Regions from separate parts of the Homo sapiens genome. Here region 2 is linked to region 1. Evidence: promoter capture Hi-C in human tissues and cell types (Jung and others, 2019). All regions are on one chromosome and are shown on one strand. The core of a region is centred on a gene start or on the middle of the fragment in contact, and the rest is flanking DNA. Distances in the headings are between cores, read along the strand shown. Region 1 holds the start of SLC9A3 (solute carrier family 9 member A3). Region 2 has its middle 31 kb from the start of CEP72-DT.

The links. The method cuts DNA at HindIII sites, captures the fragments that hold promoters and counts their contacts. A contact is called where the count stands out against the background at its distance.
Region 2: a contact is called between a fragment that was not itself captured here and the fragment with the promoter of SLC9A3 in region 1, in 2 of the 25 tissues and cell types used here (lymphoblastoid cells and thymus).

The regions. Positions count from the first base shown.
Region 1 is chr5:520,942-526,469 of GRCh38, reverse strand. It overlaps SLC9A3 (solute carrier family 9 member A3), which reads left to right and starts at 2,021. Exons shown (of 17, transcript NM_004174.4): 1 at 2,021-2,358. The coding sequence starts at 2,148. It overlaps LOC107986395 (a long non-coding RNA gene), which reads right to left and starts at 1,812. Exons shown (of 2, transcript XR_001742543.1): 1 at 1,507-1,812; 2 at 1-58. RefSeq lists an enhancer at 1-454. The HindIII fragment of the contact is 12,710 bases long and covers 1-5,528 here.
Region 2 is chr5:578,552-583,632 of GRCh38, reverse strand. No RefSeq gene overlaps it. Among named protein-coding and RNA genes, the nearest start is that of CEP72-DT, 31 kb to the left of the region's middle. RefSeq lists an enhancer at 466-635. The HindIII fragment of the contact is 6,374 bases long and covers 530-5,081 here.

The sequences.
Region 1 (5,528 bases), core at 772-3,271:
TGGCCGGAGGTCCAGTGGGCATCATGGAACACACTGGTCTGGTGGAAATTTGGCCTTCCTGTGGAATGCAAGGGCAACATCTTCAGAGAGGACGTCGTTCCTAACGGCTCCACCCAGGAACCATAAGGAAAGAGCAGGGAAGCTCCGGACTGGAGGGAATCCTGTTCTTGTCCTGCTGGCTTTTTCTCTGGGACAAGAGGCTGGGAGTGGAGTGGGGGACAGAGACAGGTGGGGCAGGGACACAGGCCAAGAGCGACTCCGATGCTCCCACCTCGCAAGACCATACTAGTGGCCAGTCACACACTTCCACTCCCCCGGTGCCCTGTCCAGACCCTGCAGTGGCCCAGGCCAGGGCTGCCCTCCCTCCACGCCACTCAGCAGCCGAGTCACCAGGCGAGCACCATCTGAATGCACCTTCCCTGTGCTACACGGGCCACTTCCATTAGCATGAAACTGGGGCCCTTGCAGGGTGAAGTCATTGAACTCAGCACTGTCCTCCTCAGGCCTCCGCAGCCCCCACTCAGATGTCAGAAGACACATCCATCCTCCATCTGCACCCACCCCACCGCCCACCTGCCCTTTGTCCACCTATCTGTCCTTCCATCCATCTATCATCCATCCGCTCAGCCACTATCTTGCGAGTGCTATTGTGTGCCCAGCTATCTTCCAAGCTCCTGGGATGTATGCATGAGCCCCTTGCTCGTGGAGCAGACATTCCCAGGGTGAGGGCAGACAGCTCAAGGTCAAAGCCAGCAGCCCCCAGGGCTGGGAGGTGAGCTGATTCCCGGAGCCAACCGAGTAAGCAGGGGAGGCGGGAGCTTAGCTGCCACAGTTGTGAGCTGAGTGGGTATCGGGTGGGACCAGAAGGTGGCATTGGAGCCAAGCCCCTGGGGAGCTGAGGAAGGGAGCACACAAGAGCCGTCCAAACAGAGGGAGCAGGGCGTGCAAAGGCCCCGAGAGGCGCCGATTGCTGGTGTGGGCCGTGGAGTGCATGGGGGTGGGGGTCAGGCAGTGGCTGGGGTCTGAGCTCCCGGGAGACGTTGAGCCTTTCCTCTGAGAGGGAGGGTCCCAATAGGAGGGACTGAAGGGGCAGGTAGAGGGCCGAGCAGGAGCCTTTGCAGGTGGCTGCAGGCTCCCAGAAGCCGCTGGTTTTGTGCACATTTTGAAAGTAGAGCAGATATGCTAAGAGCTTGGAAACCTTGTGAGCGAAAGAAGTCCACCTGCGTCCCAGGTCTGGGGCTGGAAGGCTGCAGGGTGGGCTTGGAGGAAAACAGGGGTGTGGTTTGCACAGTGGAGCCTGAGATGCTTAAGAGAGCCAGTGCTGCCGGAGCGGGCTGTGGGCAGAGGCCCCGCATCCGTGTGAAGCCCTGGGGGTATCGAATTGTTTTGGGCGGAGGTCTAAAGGCAGGGGATGGGGCAGGGGAGACCACGGGGGCCCCTGGGCTCCCATCTCAGAGCCTGGGGTGGGGGATGCTGGCTGGCGATGGGAGGGGCAGAGAGACTTACCAGCGCACCACGCAAGGCCTGGGCGCCCCCGAGTTCTGGTAAGTGGCCGGTCCGGCTGTGGAATGCAGGTTCCTGCTGAAGACAATAGCGAGGGGCTGTGTGAAGACACACCTGGGGCCCCTGTGCACCCTTGGGCCGCCCTGTGGGGTCTGCGCAGCCCCAGGCCCTGCGTTTATGAAGGAGGGTTGGGGCGAGCGCACCCACAGCTGCCCGGGCATCCCAGGAGCTGCGCGGAACCGCCTGTCCCGCTGCCCCGCGCTGTGCTCCCCACGCCCCAGGAAGGCGGCCGCGCAGTCCCGGGCTCGCTCTTGCCGCGACCTCCCGGACCTCCAGGCCGCGGGCTCCGGGGGAGGGTGGGCACCAGGGAGCGCGGGGTGGGCGTGCGCGGGCGGGGCGGGCGTGCCGGGAGCTGCGGCGGTGTCTGCGCTCGCGAGTGCGCGGCGGGGGCGGGCAGGCTCCGCCCCGGGGCGGGAGGGGGCCGCGGGATTAAAGGCCACCCCGGCGGGCGGGGATCGGACTGTAGCCGGTACCGGCACCGGAGCGCGCCGGGTCCTCGCCGGGTCCCAGCCCCGCGCGTCGGCCCAGCCCAGCCGGGACCCCCCGCGACATGCGCGTCCCAGCCCTGCGCTGAGCAGGCGGCAATGTGGGGACTCGGGGCCCGGGGCCCCGACCGGGGGCTGCTGCTGGCGCTGGCGCTGGGCGGGCTGGCGCGGGCCGGGGGCGTCGAGGTGGAGCCCGGCGGCGCGCACGGCGAGAGCGGGGGCTTCCAGGTGGTCACCTTCGAGTGGGCCCACGTGCAGGATCCCTACGTCATCGCGCTCTGGATCCTCGTGGCCAGCTTGGCCAAGATCGGTAAGTGGCCCCGGGGTCTCCGGATCTGCCCGCGGGGTGTGCGGCCGCCTCTGCTGGGCCTGGGGGCTTCGTTGTGGCCGCGCGCATCAGGTCGGAGCCGCGCGGCGGCCGCCCGGGAGAGTCCGGCTCTCGGGTCCAGCAGAGCGAGACTCGGGAGCGACTCTGGCCGCGCTAAGCCGCCCCTGCGGGTCCCGAGGTCTCCCCTCCCCGGCGGGGGCACAGCCTCGGAGCCCCGGACTCCCGGCTCCCGGGTCCCTGTGGGGTCTCCGCCCCGCCTCCGCTCCGAGCCCCGCAGACTGCAGGCTGCTCGCGCCCAGGGAGTCCCCGGGGCCGGGTTTCCTTCGGGGTTCTCAGGCTTTTTAGAGAAACGTCCTTGGAGTGATGGCGTTTTTTCGTGAGTTACAAGGGCAGAAAAGAAAAGCGGTGCTACCCGCATGAAACCCAGCAGAATCCTCCCTACAGGCGCAGCGTTCCCATTGGCGGGCCTCCTTTTTTTTTTTTTTTTTTAGAAAATCCCGGTCGGTCAGATTTCTCTTCTTCTTAACCGGCGCCAATGAACCAGTAATGTGGGCACGGCAGGTAGCTCCTGGCAAGGTGACAGGAAGGTCAGCTTCCTGAGGAGCTCGTGGGGATCAAAGTTTCATGTGTTGGTCCACAGGGTAGGGTCTCTCCAGGGGTGGCAGGGAGGTGGTCACTCGTGTGGAGGGGGGATTAGGGGGCCCGAGTGGGGCCAGGAGAAGCAAGATCAGAGCAGCAGGCGCCGCGGCAGGTTTCCAGAGCAGCTTTGGACTGGGGCGAGAGGAGGTTTCGATGCTGGGGCCGAGGAGGGGCGCCCACGCAGGACAGGGGAGGGACAGGCTCCGGGGAGAACAGCTGAGAGGACCTTGGCCTTGGTGGAACCTGGTACGCCCAGCAGGCTTGATTGGAGAAGGCGCCTTTTCCTTCAGTGACGCCTGCCGCCTGCCCTATTTATGCCAGGGTCTCCCCTCCCCTTCAGGCCCCTTGTGTGTTTGCTTTCTGTCTCATAAGGGCTCTTCTGAGCCCTCCCGCCTCCTCCCTTCTCCGCAGCCTCCTCCTCGCCCTGGTGTCTTTCAGCTCCCCGCCGGGCTGCCTGCTCTCCAGGCTCAGGCTGTCCTCCCTGGGCTTTCCACTGGGGGCTTGGGATGCTGGCCGGGGGGGAGTCTCTGAGGCTGGCTGCCTCCTACAGTTGATTTCCTTGAGAAGGGCCCCTGGGGCATCAGGGAGGTCCAGACTCAACCTGGGCTCTGCGGCCGCCCAGTCCTAAAGCTCACCCTGCTTTCCTCTGACGGGAGTGCCCCCCTGGTGTAAACTGAAAAGGTAATTTCTTTTTTTTTCTTTTTTTTTTTTTTTTGAGATAGAATTTTGCTCTTGTTGCCCAGGCTGGAGTGCAATGACGCGATCTCGGCTCACTGCAACCTCCACATCCTGCCTCAGCCTCCCGAGTAGCTGGGATTACAGGCATGAGCCACCACGCCCAGCTAATTTGTATTTTTAGTACAGACAGGGTTTCTCCATGTTGGTCAGGCTGGTCTTGAACTCCAGACCTCAGGTGATCCACCCGCCTCGGCCTCCCAAAGTGCTGGGATGACAGGCGTGAGCCACCGCGCCCGGCCGTGAATATCTAATTTCTGTACAAGCTGGGGCCTCTCCCAGTTTAGCCCAGTGTACAGAGTCAGAATCTGGCATCTGAAGGTCCAATGACAGCCGCCAGGCACCAGCCAGCCCCGCCTGGGAGCCGGCAGATAAGGCACACTGACCAGGGCTTTGCCTGGCCTCAGAGTTTGTTATTCACAGGGAAAAGCCTTCAGGTCTCCCAAACACTTGGACTGGTTCTGGGAAGACGTCCTTGAGGGCGGGGAGGCTGCCGGCTCCAGCAGCAACTCCCCGGGGCAGGGCGGTCCTTTACAAAGGCCCACCCTGATAGCACTCAGCGGCTGTCTTTGTCTCGGATTGTTGGCTCCACCTGGGAAGGCGAGCCTTACCCTGTGCAGCTGTGGGAGCTCATCGCGGTATCCCACAGGCGCAGACCCTCTCCAGACCTGCCCTTTACGCTCCCTGTCGTCCCCTCAACCCACTGTGCACTCTGCAGCCCCGGCAGTGACAGCTGAGGTCTGCTCTGGGTCTGCCCGGATTGGCCCCCAGGGTGTCCCACCCTCCATCCCCTCTCTGCCAGCCACACCTCTTGAACACAGCCCCCAGCCCTCCCTGTGTGCTTCCTCCCCCAACCCCTTCCCTGTGAACTCTGGACTTCTCAGATTCCACTGGCCCAGACCGTCCTCCTTGTGCAGCCAGCCTCAGGTGCACGACCTGTGTTCCCAGAGGACCCTCAGGTCCAGGCCTTCACAGACACCGGGGCCCAAGCCTGCACCACAGCGGGAACTTCTCCAGTTTCACCCAGCCTCCTCCACATGCCCACAGCCCCCGGACTGGGGTCTGAACCTACTAAGCTGCTTGGCACATTTTGTTGTTTAAAATGGTCAGGGGTTGGCCACACTCTTTCAGTCTCAAGTTACACGAACAGAAATGTCTCTTCCAGCAGAAAAGAGCTGCCATTCCTGTTGCTTTTCCAAACATTTGTTGAATTTCTCACACATCCTGAGAGTTTCTAACTCACAGCCCCAGCCTTCTTCAAGCCATTTGTAACCTGGTTGGGGAAATAAGAGTCCGGGTACCCTGAAACCCACAGCAATGTTGATCCCAGGAGATTTCTACTCCAGGCAGCTTGGGACAGAGGATGGCCAGAGGGCCAGAGCTGCCTCAAGCAAACACTGGGGCTGGGGCCTCAGCAGGTGGCCCAGGAGCCTGGGCAAGGAACAGGTGCTGCTGTTGGCCCACCAGCCTCAGGCCGCGTGTCTGGCTCCGGCAAGGGCTCCCCACAAGCCCCCTATTTGTGTGCACTGGGGTTCCCCTGCCTTTTACAGCATCTTTTTAAAATGCAGAAGGGGAGGCAAGGGCCGAGGCCACGGAGCCACTCCACAGCGCAGACCTCCCAGACTGAGAGGACGAGGAAGTCTTTAGCAGTGGAGGCGGCAGGGCCTAGTGTCTGCCTCAGGCAGGGTGAGGGGGCTTCCTCCTGTGCCCCTTGGGGGCCCCCAGCCTGCAGCCACCCGCACCAGGGCCACTCTAGGCCTTAGGTGCCCACCAGAATC
Region 2 (5,081 bases), core at 2,467-4,966, 55 kb before region 1:
CCCAGAATGTACATTTGACCCCTATCTTCTGTTTGCAAGCCTTCATCAGCTTCTACTACCTGCCTGCAGGGAAAGCTCCTGACACATTCCCTGCTTGTTCTACCTCGCACACACTGCCCCAGCCCCCCGCAGCCCTGCCCTCACTCGTGGGAGTTCTCGGATGATGTGCCTCACACTGGAGCGACTCCTCTTCACCCCTCACCATCACGACACGCATGCTGTGTCCGCCAGTCCAGCATCCATTTTCCTTTTCCTGGTGTCAGCACCTCAAATTTCCCTCAGGACTGCCTCTCCCACTCTCCGTCCACAGGTGTCCAAGGGCACCAGGAGTGGGCAACGCGAAGTGGTTGAGTGAGAGCCACAGTCTTGCTGGACCCCTCGGAAAATCTTTATAGCAAGACTGCTGGGTGGGGCGGCCTGAGGACGAAGCGGCACAGGAGAGCAGGGGTAAGAGATGGGCCAGGCAGCTTCGAGATTTTACCACTTCAACACCTGGAGCCTTTGCCGACCCCAAACAGGCGGGCTGCCCGCGGCCAGAGACACCTGTGCCGATGGCAGAGCGATCCCCAGTCACAGGTGCTTCTTGGGTAAAGCTGACATAGGAAACACATACTTTTGTGTCACTGTCAAAAGCATTTGAAGAGGCAAAATAAACACAGAACCGCACAATTAAAAAGGGAGTGCGGGTGAAGGAAAGTCAGCAGGAACGGCAGGGGATGAGATGTGGTGGTGGCCAGCCCTGGCTCTCTGCGGTCAACGTGCAGCCTTGCAGATGGTGGGGAAGTGCAGAAGGTAGTGAGTAGTGAAGCTGCCTGGGCTTCTGGGTTGGGTTGGGGACTTGGAGAACTTTTCTGTCTAGCTAAAGGATTGTAAATGCACTAATCAGCTCTCTGTGTCTAGCTAAAGGTTTGTAAATGCACCAATTAGCACTCTGTAAAATGGACCAATCAGCACTCTGTAAAATGGACCAATCAGTAGGATGTGGGTGGGTCCAAATAAGGGAATAAAAGCTGGCCACCAGCCTAGTCAGTGGCAACCTGTGCTGGTACGAGTCTGTACCTGGGCAGCATTGTTCTTTTGCTCTTTGCAATAAATCTTGCTGGTGCTCACTGTTTGAGTCTGCACTACCTTTATGAGCTGTATCACTCACCGTGAAGGTCTGCAGCTTCACTCCTGAAGCCAACGAGACCACGAATCCACCAGGAAGAATGAGCATCACCTTTAAGAGATGTAACACTCACTGTGAAGGTCTGTGGCTTCGCTCCTGAAGTCAGTGAGACTGCTAACCCACCGGAAAGAAAAAAAAACTCCAGACACGTCTAAACCTCTGAAGGAACAAACTCCGGACACCATCTTTAAGAACTGTAACACTTACTGCAAGGGTCCGCGGCTTCATTCTTGAAGTCAGCGAGACCAAGAACCCGGTGGAAGGAACCAATTCTGAACACAAGGGAACCAGGGGACAGAGGGAGACAGCCTCTCTGCCAGGGCCTGGCTGCATCTGCTGGGCAGAGGGCAAAAGAAAGTTGTGTTGTTTTGTTTTGAGATGGAGTCTGTGTTGCCCAGGCTGGAGTGCAGTGGCACCATTTCAGCTCACTGCAATCTCTGCTTCCCGGGTTCAAGTGATTCTCCCACCTCCGCCTCCCAAGTAGCTAGGATTACAGGTGCCCGCCACCAAGACTAGCTAATTTTTGTATTTTTAGTAGGGATGGGGTTTCACCATGTTGGTCAGGCTGGTCTTGAACTCCTGACCTCAGATGATCCACCCACCTCTGCCTCCCGAAGTGCTGGGATTACAGGCATGAGCCACTGCACCTGATCAGAAAGTTTTAATTATGGAACACTCCTAACGTACACGGAGGCAGAGAGAGTCAGCCGCCCCTCACCACCTTCTAACACACTCACATTTGGCCGTGTTTACTTCACCTATTATCTTGGTGGAGGGACTCGCGTTGGCTTATAGACATCACGCCATTAGACCCCTGGGGAACTCAGCAGAGCAGATGTCTCTAAGGAATAAGGCCTGTTTCCTATGGAGCCCAATACAGTAGGCCCCAAACAAGCACAATTCCCTCGCATCAGCCAATCCCCAGGCCACATCCACTTTTTCCCATCGTCTCAGAAATGCAGACTCCTGGCTGCTTCAAACATCCAGCCGAGGTGTGTGTTGCATTCAGCGTTTGTGGCGGTGCTGGCTCGACATGGATTCAGTGTGTATGGGGATGCTGGCTTGGTGTGCATTGAGTGTTTGTGGGGATACTGGCTTGGCATGCATTCAACCTTTGTGGGGATGCTGGCTCAGTGTGCATTCAGCCTTTGTGGGGATGCTGGCTCAGTGTGCATTCAGCCTTTGTGGGGATGCTGGCTCAATATACATACATTCAGCATTTGTGGGGATGCTGACTCAGTGTCCTTTACTCAGAGAAGTACAAAGAGAAAAGAAAGTAGACCAGCACCTCACTCTTTATAAAACTTCTGCTTATATCTTTAGAAAGTAATCAAGGGTAGGTGGGTGAGACCAGGAGATTCAACCTGGAGAGGCATGAAGAGAAACCGGCAGCACCTGCCCAGCCTCTGGCCAGGTTGGCCCTGCCAAGGTTTTGCTGTTCATTCCTCCTTTCAGAAACAGGTATGCGCGCATCTCTGTATTCATTTTGTTTTCCTTTTGCACCAAGCAGCATTTCCCTTTGTCTGTGGCTCGTTTTCCTCACCAACTGAAAATGGCAGAGGGTTTCGTCCCTGAGTTCCGGCTGCTTGTGCCTCCATCTAGAGCTTCAACAACAAAACGCCAGGTCCAACCAGCAGCTTGAAAATTTACCTCCAATAACAAAGTTACTAATTTACAAAGTGACTTTGGATGTAAACGTGCTGAAAACTTACAACTACTAATGGTGTGTGTGTGTTCACCCTCCTCAAATCCCATGCTTCCCCTCCCACCCATGTCCTCGCTGTGGCCGCAAAGGTCCGGAATCCTCTCGCCTTCTGCTGTGACTTGGGCGGCTCATGTCTACATCCCACAGACAGGCCCTGCCGTGCACAGCTGAAACTTGAACACTGAGGGTTGCCGAACCTGCCACGGAGATGCGTTACTTTGTTCATTCTCTTCCTGTTTTTCTAATTCTGTAGCAACCAGGAACACAAATGAATCTGATCTACATTAGTAAAGATACCCGTGTGAAGGTTTGGAAGTTGAAAATATTAAATACCAGCAGAATTTAAGAATTAAGAGCAAAGAAGGAAACGCCTTGGGCTTGGCATCACATGAATACCCTACCCGGGCAGAGCAAATGTAAAGAGATCTTTAAAACACACACTGGGAGGCAGGATGAAATTCAAAACACGGCAGAGCTTATTGGGGAAGGAAATTCTGCCACCAACTTAAGGATTATGTTAAAAGGATGCTCACACACTGAGTTAACACCTGGGCTCTCATGTGGTGGACCCCTGGCGGGCCCCTGCTGGGATCCTGGGGCTTTGCTGAAGATTCTTATTTGCAAAGTGAAGCCACCTTTGAGCACCTGCTGTGTACCCAGCTCTGCCTTGGGTGTGAGGGAACAACCGGGCTGTGGCCCCGCTGCTGTTAGGGAGCTCCAGACAGGGTCGAGGCCACCTACAAGCAAACGACTCTGCTCAGCCTGGAGGCACAGGGCGCACGGCGCTCCCCGGAACTGAGTGAGGAGTCCTGGGGCAGGGGAGGACTTGGAGGCCACTAGGTCAGATGTCCCTATCATAGCCGGCACAGGGATTACCCTGGAGCTCACGGGAAGCTGGGGCCAAACCCGGACGGGGCAGGTTGAAGCCACATCAAGAAGAGGGCTGTGGAGGGAGCACCCAGAACCACACCCCGAGCCAAGGCCAGGATCACCCCCGAGCCAAGGCCAGCATCTGAGGCAGCCCACACCAGGGCTGTCTCAGATGCTGCCACAGCCACCCCGAGGACCCTGGATCTTTACAGAGAGGCCACAGGTGGAGATCAGCCAGGCTTTCTCCACCCTGAGAGCTCAACACAGCTGCCTACCTATACTGCTATGAGCCTCCTTAAGGAACCTGTGCTGCTATGAGCCTCAAGTCCTTTGAGAAACAAGACAGTGACGGGGAAATAAAAATGTAAGTGGTGGCGTTTGTGTGTGTGGAGTCAGCACACTGTGGCATCCCCGCATAGCTCAGCCTCCATCTGGCTGTGCGGCTCTGGCCAGGTCACATGACCTCTCGGTGCCTCGGCGTCCTTATGTGAGGGTGGTGGCCACAGTCCTGATGTGCCAGGCTGAGCCGTGATGAGCTACAACGCTGCCTGGCACCATGAGCTGTTCTTCTCAAAGGACTGGTTTTTAAAAATCAAGGTCCCCTGACACTCCCCATCCTGGACTCAGCCCTTCTCTGCTCACCCTCACCCCAGCTTCATCTCAGACCTGCTGGGATCGGATTTGGGATTGCGTGGAAAATGTAATTGAATCTGGGCAGAACTTGACATCATAACCGTAATGAATGTTTTTATCCGTGAAGGCTGTCTCTCCATTTATTCAGCTCTTTAATTTCTTTCAGCGACATTTTATAGATAATGTCGTTTGCTAAATTCAGTCATAAGTATTTTATGGTTTTGATGGTATTATAAACTGAATAATTTAAATTTTTATTTTCAGATTATTTGCTGCTAGTATATAGATACAGAACTGATTTTTGTTTACTGATCTTATGTTCTGAGACCCTGTGAATCTCACATTCGTTCCAGTAGTTCTGAAGACTCCTTAAAATTTTCCTTGTAAATAATTGCATCATCTGTGATTAGAGATAATTTTACTTTCTCCCCACCAATCTTTCTTCTTTTTTCTCCCTTCCTTTGTTGTCCGGCTACAACCTGGGGTAAGAGGTGTTGTGGAGATGGAGTACACTTCCTTGCCTTCTCCCTGGTCTTAGGGGAGAAGTGCCTGGCATCTTACCATTGTGTATGATGTGGGTGTAGGTTTTACATGATGCCTTAGATTTCCAAGAGCTTCTATCTTACATGGATTTTGAATTTCGTTAGAAGCTCTTTCTGCTCCTATTGATGTTTCATATGGTTACTCCTTTATTCCATCAATATG